Linked DNA regions of Homo sapiens: region 2 is linked to region 1. Evidence: promoter capture Hi-C in 16 types of primary human blood cells and fetal thymus (Javierre and others, 2016). All regions are on one chromosome and are shown on one strand. Each heading gives the region's core, a stretch centred on a gene start or on the middle of the fragment in contact. The rest is flanking DNA. Distances are from core to core; before and after follow the strand shown.

Region 1 (7,572 bases), core at 3,127-5,626:
TGATTTCCAAATTGAAAATAGCCATATATTTCCCTTGGTTGTAGAAATAGCAGCATATGCTCATTGTAAAAAAAAAAAATGCAAACAATATGGGAATGTATAAAAAAGACAGTAAAAATTCCCCCAGATAGATGCTGCTATCCTGAGATAAGCGCAGATGGCACTTTGGGGCTCTATATCATTTTACATCTATGGGACTCACATTTACTTTTTAAGTCCAAAGCACATATTTTATTTTAATTAAAAAATATTTTTTGAGATAGGATCTTATTCTGTCACCCAGGTTGGAGTGCAGTGGCACGATCATGGCTCACTGCAGCTTCCAACGCCTGGGCTCAAGCCCTCCACCCACCTCAGCCTCCCGAGTGGCTGAGACCATAGGTGTGTGCCACCATGCCCAGCTAATCTTTAATTTTTTTTTTTTTTTGTAGAGACAGGGTCTCCCTATGTTGTCCAGGCTGGTCTCCAATTCTTGGGCTCAAGTGATCCTCCTGCCTCGGCCTCTCAAAGTGCTGGGATTATAGGCATCTGGCATAAAGGTATATTTTTAATAGAGACAGGGTCTTGCTATGTTGTCCAATCTGGACTGGAACTCCTGGGCTCAAGAGATTCTCTCACCTCTGCCTCTGGAGTAGCTGGGACTACAGGTGTGCACCATTGTGCCCAGCTCAAAGTACCTATTTTAAAGTATTAGAATGTCTATCTATTTGTATACACACACACAAACATATACTGTTTTAATTGAAAGTATTTAACCATAACAAACTGTTCAAGAGACCCGTAATCTGAGTGTGATAAACAAAGTAACAGTTTGGCAGAGAGTTGAGTACAAGCAGCTGGTGACAGTGCTAGGGCGGGAGAAGGCGGCTGGCGTCTTTTAAATGTGTTAGGGAAAGGCCCCAGGTTACAGGATTGGGAATGCGCTGTTGTTGAGAAGTGGCCGAGGGAGTACGAGGACAGTTCAAATGCTCTGGGTCTACCCTCGAGTGTGGGGTGAACATGGCGATTGCAGCAGTGGGTCCACACGGCACCTCAGGGCCCAGGGAGGGTTTGGAGGCGGAGGGCAGCTGGGCTGCACTGTCTTCCCCAGAGGAAGATGGAGGCCTCTGGTTAATGAAGCAACCACAAGGGGTTAGGACCAAGAGATGTTTGTCTCAAATGGGTGTAACCATCCCATTTGAACTGTTTCCTGGAAAGAAATGAAAGGGGGATTCTGACGGGGCACCTGTTATTTTATTGATAGGAAATGGTTTCCATCCCGTGACCATGGAAATTTCCACGGTGCGTCCTGGCCGTGCATATTCTATGAGCCAGCTTCCCCCAGCCCACGGCATGTCACTGTGCTGGCACCCATGAGACAGTGCCCTGCAGGATGGGTGACAAGGGTGGCTGAGCCCTCCGGCCTCGGCCTCGGTGTCTACTGGAACCCCCCATTAGGTCCCCCAGGTGGGCCTTGAGTACCAGCAGGGGTGTGGGCCAGGCCCTGAGCTTCACCCTGAGGGGAAGGTGGATGGGACTCCTTTCAAGAGCCAGGTGAGGGAGGTGTGGCACAGGGCAAAGGTTGAGGCTCCTGGGTGTCCAGGGAAGAGCAGCCCCTGAGGGGCCTGAGGACACTCAGAGGAGGAATGGGTGGAGGAGAGCTGGCAGCCAGGGTGCCCGTGCAAGGGCGCAGCAGGGCAGGCTCAGTGATGTGGAGCTGGAGGGTGGGCATTGAGGCGGAGGTGGGGGGTGGGGGGTGCGGCTGTGAAGGTCACGCCAGGGCCAGGGTGCCAGAGTCAGACTGGTGGCAGTTGGGCCAGATTCACTCTGTCAGCTGACTTCAGTCCCAGCTGAGCCCAAGGCTGAGGGATCCGCCTGCACTTTCAGTCCTCTGGCTGAGCAAATTACGAAAGTATCACAGAATGTTTCAGGAACAGATGATTTTCTTTCTCTTTCTTTCTTTCTTTCTTTCTTTCTTTCTTTCTTTCTTTCTTTCTTTCTCTTTCTTTTTTCTTTCTTTATCTCTTCTTTTTCTTTCTTTCTCTTCCTTTCTTTTTCTTCTTTCTTTCCTTTCTTCCTCCCTCCTCCCTCCTCCTCCTCCTCCTCCTCCTTCTTCTCTCTTTCTTTCTCTTTCTCTTTTTTTTCTTTCTTTTTTGAGATAGGGTCTTACTCTGTCACCTGGGCTGGAGTATAGTGGCACAGTCATGGCTCTATGTAGCCTCCACCTCCCAGGCTCAAGTGATCCTTCCTGGGACTACAGGCGCGCCGCTACGCCTGGCTAAAAAAATCAGAAGATTTTTTGTAGAGATGCGACCTCGCCAGGTTGTGCAGGCTGGACTGGAACTCCTGCGCTCAAGCAGTCCTCCCGCCTCGGCCTCCCAGAGTGTTGGGATTACGGGCGTGAGCCACCGCGCCCGGCACCCTTTTCTTTTTAAAGGTCTGTGGCTGAGTTTTGTATTGGGAGTATTCTTACTTACCCAGAACGTGGCTCTGTCTCTGTTTCATCGCTGGTGGTGGAGCAAGTGAATCACCCACCAATGTATAGGTTTTCTAAGTTTGTGGTTGAAATTTTGCTAGTAAAGTGGACACATCACAAAGAAACTGCCTCCCTCCCTCACTCTGCCCAGCCTGCCCCAGCCCTAGGCTTCGAGGCAGGCCTGGGCTCCCGGAGGATGCTCCCTGGCGCTGTGGGGCCAGAGGCCTGGGCCAGGCTCCTGCTGGGGCTGGAGATGGGCGGGGTGGCGGAGGCCGGCCCTGGCCTGCCTCATTTCTGCGCTCCGACCAGCCTGGGAATCTGTTTCTGTCATGAAAGGCGAGGGTGACCTGGCGGGCTTCTGCTCCTGGTTGGTCAGAAAGTCCGGGGATCCTTGGCTCCGGTTAAAGGGGCCCCCACGTCTGCCGTCTTGCCCGGCCGCCTCCAAGTGCCGCCGGCCCAGGGCTGAGGAAGGCGGGCCGCGGGGAGAAGGCGCGAGGGCCGGGCCGGGCAGGGGGTCCCGGAGCCAACCCCACCGCCCGGGCCGCCCCGGGCCCGCGCCCGCCGCCCCCACCGCGCCGCGCGTCTGTTTGGAGAAGAAAGCGGGCCAATTTGTTTTCATTCAGAATCACTTAAGATCCCATTTTGGAGAAATGAAAAGAGAGAAGCGCGCTTCCCGGGCCCGGGCCGCTGGGTGCCCGCCCGTGCCCGGCGGCGCGTCGAGTGGAGGGACAGCGGCCCCCTCCCTGCCCTCGGCCCCAGCACGCCCGGCCGCGGCTCCCGGAGGTCCGAGGAAGGCGGCGAGGCCGCGCTCATCTGCATGAAGCGCACACTCGCGGCCCATCTGCAAAGGCGCAATTAAACGCGGGGGTGGGGGGGCAGGGGCGCCCGAAATTAGCATTTCCGCGGCCATCTGGCGCGAGGAGCGGGCGCGGCCGGACAAAGGGCGCCGGGCGAGGGGAGAGGCGAGTGTGCCGCGGCATTGACCTGCAAATGAGGCTTTGTGCGCGCATTAAAGCTCGCCGGACCCCCGACCCCGGCCCCCGCCCCGCCCGCCAGGCCCGCGGCCCCTAGCGGCCCAGGCTCGGACTGGGCACCCCGAAGGTCTGGGGGTCGGGCCGGGCAGTGCCGCGACTGGGCAGGGGGCCGGGCCGGGCCGGGCCTGGCCGGGCCAGGACAGGCTGTGGAGCGTCGGAGCCCCCCACCCAGGCTGGGTTCCTCTGCAGCCTCCAGGAGAGCCCCTGGGACCCTGGCCCCTTGAACCCTACCCCTGCCCCCATCCGGTCCTCGCCCCTCTGGGCCGGTATTCCCCAGCCTACTCCTGGAAAGGATTTCTCAGGACGCAGGGGTCCTGGCTAGAATCCCTCGGGGTGGGTAAGTGGAGGGGGCGTGGACAGGTGGGGGCTGCGTGGTGGGGGCAATTTTGTATTGGGAGCTACTAAAAACTGGCCACCTGGACAGGTTTTTGTTTTTGCCATGGTCATTAATGCCCTCAATGTTTGAAAAAGGCCATTTCACAGTGTTTTATGGGCCTTAAAAATCAGGGACTCTTTGAAAATGGTTGTGGGGCAGCTTAGTGACAGCCAGATGATTAGCAAGAGCTCAGTATCAGGTCTTTAGGGGACCAAGTGTGTGGGGTGGTGGTACAGGAAATCTGGGACTCCCCAGCTGGTACAACTGAGGCTGCAGCCAGGGCCAATGGGCCGGGGAGCAGGAGGCCGGGACTGGGAGCCCTGGGGCCAGCTGGGCTCTGCCAGATACCTGGGTCACTTGGAGGCCCCTGGAAGGCCCCCTGGACTTTCTGCCACATTGCTCAGGCTCTGGGTGCCTACAAACTGCCCCCCATGCCGTTGGGCTGCTCATTAGGGGTTGTGGCCCAAATTAAACTGCAGTAGCCACCCCCAGAACCTCCAAAGGCCTGGGGGGCAATGAGGGGCACAGAGGACAGTGTGTGGCTATCTCTGGGTCTCTGTTCTCCCAGGTGGACCAGTGGGGGTTGTGGCGATGCTGTCCAGGGTGAGGTCCAGCTACGGTTGCCGTCCTGTCTGTCAGCACCAGCACCCAGCACATCTGTAGGGCCTGGGCCCCGGACCCAGCCTGAGGGTTATGAGGAGGTTTCCTGAAGGAGAAAAGCCAGAGTGGAGTCTGGAATGGAGCAGGGGGGACCATGGCCTGCCCTCAGTCTGCTAGGTGGGGCTGGAACCTGGGGTTTTGCTTGGGTGTGAAGAAGGAAGAGGCTGGGGATGCAGCTAGGTGCTGGTTCCTCATAGACCGAGTCATGATTTATGGGGACCCTCAATTATATCCCCTTAGCAGGGGCCACAAAGTCTCAAATCTGCCCAGAAATCCACACCTCGGAGCTCAGGTGAGGTCTTCTTCAGGTTCTCCCTCTGCAGTGCAGATACTGTCAGAAAGAGCAAGCTACAAATGGAGAAGTCAACAACACTCTAGTGAGAATTACCCTGCCAATTAATTTTCTCAGAAATCGGGGACTCAGGGACCGGTGTGTAAACACGAGTCCCTTAATGGGGGGTTCAGACAGGGTGGGTGTGGGCACACAGGGGTCCGTGCTAAAGCCTGGCACTGGATCCCAGGTGTGGGGACTCCAGCTCCTCCCAAGGGGCAGGGGATCTCCCGTCTGTGATGTGGCTGAATGACTCACCGCCTCATCTGTGGGCCAACATGTGTGGTGGGGCAAAGGTCTCTGGCCTGGTAGCCGTGTGAGCTGGAGGGGGGGCACTTCTCCATCCAGGCCTTACAGTTTCCCTTAGGTAAATGGGGCAGAGTAACCCCCTCCTTCCCCTACCACAAGGGTTCTGGGAGGTGTGGAGCCTGGGGTGTGGTGGTGCTTGGCACTCCGTGTTCTTTGGAAGCTGGAATGAGGTTCCTCAGGCCAGTTATGGGTGTGAGATGTCTGGAAAAACGAAGTAGACTGGACGGTGGCCTCATCTATCTGTGCTGGGCTGGGCACCAGCACCTCGCTCTCCCAACCTCTTGGGGTGCGCCCATAGAGGAGATGGAAGCACAGAGGATTTCAGAAACTCCCCACCTTCAGTGTTGCCTTCAAAAGTATACTGCTGTGGCATGTGGGCAAGGAGGGTTCTGGGGATGGGTGGGCTGTGGGGGGAGTAGGCGCATGGGTGGGGTGGGCCCAGGGGAGCAGGCATGAACCCAGGGAGAGGGTGCATAGATGGGGTGGAACCCTAGGGCTTCTGAGGGACTGCAGTGCGGCTGGTCTGTGTGGACAGGCGCTGGAGGGGGCACTGTGCAGAGAGCAGGATGTGGGTGAGCCCCTCTTTCCCCTCTGTCCTTCCCATCCTCCAGGACAGGGAAGCAGCCCTCAGCAGACAGTGTGAACCCCATGCCCAGTGTGAGCATGAGCACAGCTCCCTGCGCTTTGTCTTCAGGAGGTCTCAGATCCAGCCTGCATTGGCTTCCAGCAGACCCCTATTTCCTAATCCTCAAGGGTTGTTCTTGTCAGGCATCCCATTTGCAATGCCCTCGAGGGCCGCTGCCCGTCTGGCAGGGAGATCAGCTTCAAGGACACAGACAGTGTCTGCGGTGGGTGCTGAGTGCCGTAGGGGAGACCCTGGGCTGCTTTTGGAAGAGGAGCATCATGGAAGAGGAGCCCTTTCGCTCTGGGCTTTGGAGGATGAGTAGGAGTTTGCTAAACCCAGATGGGGAGGAGGGCCAGTTTGGCAGGTGGCGTTTGGGAGGACCTGGGGCAGCTGCCACAGCATGCGCCGGGCCTGAAGATGCCTCCTGCGCCTGGGTTTCCAGCTCTTGCTTCCTGAGCCGAGTTGGAGCTGATATCCATGCCTCCCAGCCACGGGATGCTCTTTTCAGTGTGACCAACCAGGCAGAAGAGCTGAGTGACAGGCAACTCGTGGCCTGGTCTGTGGAAGGCAGGGCTGCCTCTGAGCCTGCGGGTTGGGGCCAGAGTCCGGGCCTGGGCCTGCCACTCAGGAGGGAGCCCGGGGCAGCCTGGAGGAAGCACTGGGCCCTGGGGCCCGGCTGCAGAATCGGGGTGTACCCTGCACTGCGGAGGGCCTGGCTGTCCCTGGGGCTGATGACTGGGTGTGGGTGGGGACGGGCCCCAGTGGCCTGAGAACACTCGCACTTCCCTGCCCCCTCTGTCCCTCTCTTTACACCTGGCCCATAAGCGGCCAGTCTGGCTGGAGACCCTAAGCTGGAGAACCACTGGAAAAGAAATGGTTACTTTCTGCCTGGAGAGGGGGTATTAAGCCTCACCTGGGGCTGAGGCCTGGTCTCTTTAGGGCCTCCATGGAGCCCACGTGGCTCCCAGGTGCAGCCATTCTCCTCCACGAGGTGCTTGGGGGATTTGGCTGAAGCCAGGGCCAAAAAGCCAAAGCCTCTTCCTCCATAGCCTTTGCCCAAATGCAGAGGCCAGGGCTGGGGATAGGGGGAGGCGATGAGGGACCAGCTATGGCTGGTGGTCTCAGGTCCTGCAGGATGGTAAGGAGGGGAGGGTGGGCGGGTCTCCTGTCTTCGATGCAACTCACGCAAGGGCTGTCCTGGTGTCTTCTTGTCAGCTTGCTGCCGAGGCTGCCACCTCAGCTGCCTGTCTGTGAAATGGGTCCATGTGTCCCCATGCCTTGGCCCGTCTCCTCTTCCCTACAACAGGCTGCTGTGCAGCCTGGGGCCCTTTCCAGGCCACCTTCTCCATCTGCTCACTGAGGAGGGACCCCTGAGTCAGCGAGGCTCCAGCTTGGCTGCACCCAGCTGAAAGGTGAGTTGGTTCCCAGCCTCAGGCTCCTCATACGTAAGATGGGGCAGCAATGCTTGGCAAGTTCAAAGGAGATCCCTGTTAATGCTTGGCTTGGAGACTCCCTTGAGCCCACTCTGGGCTGCAGGAGGCCCTGGTTGTGGGGCAGGGTCTCTGCCACCTTCACCAGCCATCCTCACACTTGTGGGTGCCCCAGGGTGGGGCACGTCCCAGCCCTCTCTCTGGTCAGCAGAGGCTAAGTGAGGCCTGGGCTCAGGCACCAGAGGGCCCAGGTAGGGGAGGCGGCCGCCAGGTCAGGCCAGGCCGGCTCCAGCGGAGGCTGAATGGGCACTCTGTCCTGCCACCCTCGGCTGTCATCTGCCGCTGGGATTTG
Region 2 (5,948 bases), core at 3,277-5,776, 340 kb after region 1:
ACCAACACATGCTGCCACGTGGATGGGTCCGAGAAACATGGCGCCAAGGCCAGACACAGACAGGTGACCACCTGCTGACCACCTGCAGTGTGGCTACGCCCTGGACAGCCAGAGCCACAGAAACAGAAAGCAGGCTGGTGGCTGCCCCAGGGCGGGACTGCTGTGGGCGTGGGGTTTTCTTTTGGGGTAATTAAACGTTCTGGATGTGGATGGTGGTGGTGGCTACACAACTCTGAACATTCTAGAGCCACTTAGGGCCCTAGAGCCACAAATGAACTGCAGTGTGTAATTACGTCTCTACAAAGCTGATTTTACAAATCACTTCCAGAGAGCAGTCAACGCCCCCTGTCCAGGAGTTCAGGGCCCAGGGCAGGGGTGTTGGTGGTCACAGCACAGAAGCCAGCCCGCCAGGTGGGGGTCCTGACACCTGCACCAAGCGTCTGCTTCCCAGAGGAGCCTCCAGGCGGCAGGCTGTGGGCCGCTCTCCTCCAGTTTCACTTCCTCCTTTCCAAGGCCCCGAGGCCGAGCCACAGAACTCATGAAAGGGAAGGCGCACAGAGCCCCACCCTGGGGCCAACGTTCTGGGCCTGTGGGCCCGCAGAGAAAAGACGGGCCGCCTTCTCTGATCGCCGGAACCATAAAGATAGGGAGCTGCTGCCACTGCAAACGTACCCTCCAGGGCCCGCCCGGCCTTCCTCCCGCCTCTAGGGGGATTCCCACGGGCTCCGGAGACTCCAGGGACCCCCGTGGATCCTCAGCGACCGGAGAGCCAGGAGATGGCCACATGGCCCCCAGGGCCAGGGGAGACACAAACAGAGAAAGCCACACACAGACCCTGGGGGCCCCGGCATAGATCCTCTGCCTGGCATAGGGTGCCCCAGGCTCCCTCCGCTCCCTGAGATCCTGCCATCCTGAGTGGCTTCTAACCCACCCCAGGACAGCCAGAAGGCCCCCTGCATTGCCTCTCATCCAGCCTCCTGAAGTCAGCCCCACCCAGAACCCATCCTCTTCCACCTGTCCAGATGTGGACAGCCCAGCCCACCCTCCCCAGGCCCCCAGAGCCCACAACAAACAGGCTACCTCCCAGCACAGCCTGCCTCGGCTCATCCTCCTGCTGCACGGAGGTTTCTGGGGAAGGTGGGGCTCTGGCCCCCCACCCCCTTCCCCAAGCTCCTGTGGACAGGACAATCCTTTCCTGGCCTCTGGTAGCCCTACCCAAAGGCCCTTGAGGGCTCACTCAGCCAAAGACCCTGCTCAGGCCCCCTCCCTGGGTTCCTCCCTCCCCACAGCCATAGTCCCGCTGCTGGGACTGGGGCCAAAACCTGCAGCTACCATTTCCTCAGCCACCTGCCTCACCGACACCCTGTCCCTGCCACACCGGTCAGCTCTACCTGCAGAGCCGAACCCAGCCAGCCCCTGTCTGCACCCTGCCCATCCATCCTCATCTCCCCCTGACCACAGTGCCCACCTCCACCCTCGGCGCCCCCAGCCCACACACCCAGCCAGTCAGTGAACCCTCCATGTCGTGCCCCAGTATTTACACCACGATGGCCCCAGATCACCCCAGCTCCTCCCGGCCCTTGTTGCCAGTCCTGACTGTGCCCAGCCCGGCCCACCTCAGGGCCCGTGCACCTGCTGCTGCCCAGCCTAAAAGCCCAGCTTGAGGGTCCTGCCAGCGGGCCCTGTCTCATAGGCAGAGGCCAGCTCTGATGTCTGACCCTGGCCCCCACAACACCCCAACTGTGTCCTTTATACTCAAGCATCATCGCTGGGACCAGAGTCTGTTGTCCACCCCCTAGACCATGAGCACCCCAAGAGTGGGGCTGTGGGCTGCAGTCCATGCCCGGGACGCAGCCTGGTGCACAGTAGGTGATCAGCCCCGTGGGACTTCCTTCATTTAATCTCTAAGCCCCAATGCTGCTGCTTCATCCCCACCACCATGACCCTTCCTCTGCTCCCTGAGGTTACTCCCCCACTGGGACATTCGACCCAAAGCACAAGTCTGATCAGCCACGTGGTTCCCAGGAGCACCTGGAAGGCTGGCATGCAGCCCTACCCCTCCTTGGGCCTCAGTCCCCCTGACTCCCGCCTGCCCAAAGCGCTGGCTGCATAAGCTGCCTGGCATTTGCAAACGCGGTGCTTCCAGCCAGGGACGCTCTCTGCACCCCCACCCTCCACACTGCTTTGGCTCTGAGGACTCCTCCTGGCCAGCTTGGACAGGATGTCCAGGCCCTGCCAGGCTCCCTCTGGGTGCTCCTACACTGACCACCCCTGCTCTCATCTGTCTCTGGGACTATAATCCGCACAGCGCTAGCACGCGGTGGATGCAGAGTAATTTGTTCAACAGACACAGCTGGAGCCTCCGGGCCAACCCTGTGGGGAGCCCTCCGTAGGGTGAATCTGTGGATCTCACGGGGACACAAGCAAAGGTTGGTTGGAAGGGTGAGTGCCCATCTGCACTGGGCACCATTCCGGGCACTGGGAATGGGCTCAGACTGGCTCACCTTGCACACAGCATGCTGCCCACTGCCGGAGCAGGGTTCCCTCCAGGTTCTTAGAAGAGTCTTTGTGCCAAGCTGCAGGCCCTGTCCCCACACCCTGCAGCCCCCAGGGCTGGGCTGGGTCTCTGCCCCTTGCTGGTGCAACTGTTGGCTCTCTCCACCCTACCAGGGCTCCCTCCGCCATGACTGCCACACTTAATCCTCCTGGACGTCTGTTTGTTTTGATTTGCAGTGAGCAGGGAAGTGAGATTAGACACAGCCTGGCTCAGCCACGAGGAAGCAGAGCCGGGCTGCCCGGGGCAGAAGATGCCACCTGCCTGCTCCCCAGGCCCACGGCGTGCAGAGAGGGCCAGGGCACCATCTGCACATGGAGATGCAGTGCCCACTGGTGACCCAGGCAGCTCCCCTGCCTCAGTTTCCTTATCAACACAAAGAAGTGGCCCACAGGTGCTTCTTCCCAGGCTGTGGAGGGAAGTGTCACCTGACGTCCAGCAGGGAATCAGCAGCGAGCGTCGACTTCACCCTGAGGCCTTGGATAAGCCGGAAGCTGCCAGTGCTGTCTACTGCAAAGATGTGGCAAAACCCACCACCCACCAGGGGCCCTGGGAAGGATCCACTAAGTTGCTGTCTGTTCAGCAACAGGAAGTGCTCCTGGGGACTGCAGGCCACTGCCCGCTACCCACGCCCCTGCTCACTGACCACTGGCCCAGCCAGTGCTTTGCAGACAGTAACACAGACCCCCACGAGACCCTGCCAGACTGTGACATCACTGCCACACTATCATCAAACACATGCTACAAGTAGGGAAACTGAGGCTCCAAGGGCTTCTGAGGTCACAATTGGGGTAAACTGAGGAGGAGACACAGGACTGCAGCCTGGTTCCCTGACCCGGCATGGCTGGGGTCCCTGGAGGCTGGGCCCTGGGCCCCTTTGACCCTCGGTATGAGACGACTTGCCAGGCTCTGGTCTTGGTGCACGTGAGCAGGGATAGGGCTGCGGTGAGGGTGGCACAGCAGCTTTCCCGTCGCCGAGCCTGGCTTCCATCCTCCCGTCTCTTCCTCCAACTCAGATCCTCCTGCTTCTCTTAGAAGAATCCTCACAATCACAGTGAGGGCTCACCCGGGTAACCCAGGACAACCTCCCCTCTCACGAGCCATCCCTCAGTCACCCTGCAAAGCCCCTTTGGCCACACAACCTAACTTGTTCACAGGACAAGGACACAGACACCTCAGGGGCCACCGTTCAGCCAAGCGACAGCCATGTCTGCGAGTCATGCACCCGAATCCACGCCACTGCCCCAGCCTCTCAGTGACCTGCACGGAAGGCGCTGCACTCCCCCCACTCTCAGATGAGCAAATGGAGGCCTGAGGAGGGAAGGGGGCCATGGGCAGGACCCAGGTCTGCTGACCCTGCAGCCTCCAGGCCCAGGTTGAAAGCTTTAAACTTTCAAAAAAAAAAAAAAAAAAAACTGTAAACTTCCTCCAAGGCAGAGGCGAGCGAACAGAATTACCTGCAGCTCCTCTGCCCTTCACAGGGGCACCGTGATGCAATGTGGAAGCTGAGATAACCCCACTTCACAGCTGCCCTTCTAAAAGACCACAGGCGACGCTGCCTTCTGCATCTGCCATCACGGCTTTTCGATTCTCGTGCTGTTTGGGTGACAGCCGTCCATCACAGTGGCAGTTGGTGACCTCGGCCACAGCATAGAAAGCAGTGGTGGGGCCGGGCGCGGCGGCTCACACCTGCAATCCCAGCACTTTGGGAGGCCGAGGCGGGAGGATTGCCTGAGGACAGGAGTTCGAGACCAGTCTGGCCAACATGGTGAAACCCCGTCTCTACTAAAAATATGAAAAAATTAACTGGGCGTGGGTGGTGGTGTGCTCCTGTAATCCCAGCCACTCAGGAGATTGAGGCAGGGGGATTGCTTGAACCAGGGAGGTGGAGGTTGCAGTGAGCCGAGATCGCGCCACTGCACTCCAGCCTGGGTGACAGAGCAAGACTCCACCACAAAAAAAAAAAAATTAAATTAAATTAAAAAAGAAAGCAGTGATGGATGCTGGTTAGCACCATGTGCAGGGTGGGCACTCACAGGCCGCAGGTGAGGGCTTGAAAACTTGGTGACTGGCTGCAAATACCACGCGCCTGGGCTTCATGGCGCGGATTCCAGCTGCAGGGGCCTCTCCTGCCCATGTCCTGTGCTCAGGAGACACAGCTGGCTCAGATATGTGGAGTTACTGCAGCAGGAAGATTCTTGACTGGGCGTTGCGGGAGAATACAGGATGTGGCCAGGGAAGACTGCACATGGGTGGTCCTGGACCAGCCCCCACAGAGTGTGCACCCAAGTGGGCGTCCACCCCAACTACCTGGGCAGAGGTGCCTGGGAAAGTCCCGTGCAGTGGAATCGCGGCTGAGGCAGAAGACAGGGCTCCAGGCCCGGGGGTTGGGAGCCAGCAGGGGCTGAGGAACGTTCCCCCGCAGGCCAGGCAGATGGTGGGGACAGGTGCCCATGGGCCAGGCTGGCTGTCAGCCTTGCCATATTCTGAAGGCTAAATGATTCTTCCGATATTTTGATATACCGTGCTAGCCTCAGAAGGAATTATATGACAAAGCTTACTTTTATCTACTCCAGATAAAAAGAGTTTTATCTTATTTACCGCTTTATCTATTCTTGTCTCGGGCGGAGCTGGGAACCTCACAGGTGCCGAGCTGGGGTCCCTGCCCTTGAGGCACTCAGGGCCTGGGGTGCCTGTGTCCCCTCCTGCCTCTGCAGGGCCACCTACCACCCCCTCTGCCTCAGCTCCAAGGCCAGGCAGTCACAGCCCCCCACTCTGCAGAGCCGGGAAACTAAGGCCCTGGGAGAGGACGAATCCTATGCGTGTTTTGGACTCGGAGTGGGAAGCAGGACAGGCTAGCGAAGGGGTGGGGGAGAGAAGACACCGACCCCCCCCCAGCTCATGTGGTCCCCTGAATGCTGTCCCACCCGAGCTCCCAAGAGGGCGTGGTCATGCGGGGGGCGGGGAGCTGCATGAGCGGGGAGCCCACCGCACCCCAGAAAACAACCTCCTACTTGTTCCCCTTGACAGCAAATAGGCCTCAGGAGCAGTGACGGCGAGTACCAGCCCCGAAGGCACCCGGTGAATTATCCGACATCATTTCAACATCTCAGCCCCGGGTGCCCGGGAACACAGGAGAATGCAGGAACCCTGCCAGGGTCATAGCCCGAGACGCTGTGGGAGGGCTCCCCCGGGGTGCAGGCAGCGGGCCTGGGTGGGCTCCACGGCTCAGATGGCCTGGGGCTAACGCGAGCTGAAGGCTGGAGACTCCATGACCTGCCCTGCCGCACACACTAGGGCCCCTGAGTGGTGCTCCTAAATGGGCCTGGTTGATCCAGGTGACCCGCCAAGCAAATCCAGTCCGGGTGGGGGCTGTGCCGGGACTCTGGCCTTC

What was found. Contacts are between HindIII fragments. The CHiCAGO score rates a contact against its expected background, and 5 or more counts as called.
Region 2: a fragment that was not itself captured here is called in contact with the fragment with the promoter of KCNQ1-AS1 in region 1 in 8 of 17 cell types (neutrophils, naive CD4 T cells, erythroblasts and 5 more); the score reaches 8.2 in neutrophils.

Annotation. Positions count from the first base shown.
Region 1 is chr11:2,858,373-2,865,944 of GRCh38, reverse strand. KCNQ1-AS1 (KCNQ1 antisense RNA 1) reads left to right here and starts at 4,376. Exons shown (of 3, transcript NR_130721.1): 1 at 4,376-4,955; 2 at 7,006-7,202. RefSeq lists enhancers at 2,289-2,986, 7,215-7,572. The HindIII fragment of the contact is 10,846 bases long and covers 1-7,572 here.
Region 2 is chr11:2,521,773-2,527,720 of GRCh38, reverse strand. The region is part of intron 1 of KCNQ1 (potassium voltage-gated channel subfamily Q member 1); the gene reads right to left. Among named protein-coding and RNA genes, the nearest start is that of KCNQ1, 80 kb to the right of the region's middle. The HindIII fragment of the contact is 1,173 bases long and covers 3,940-5,112 here.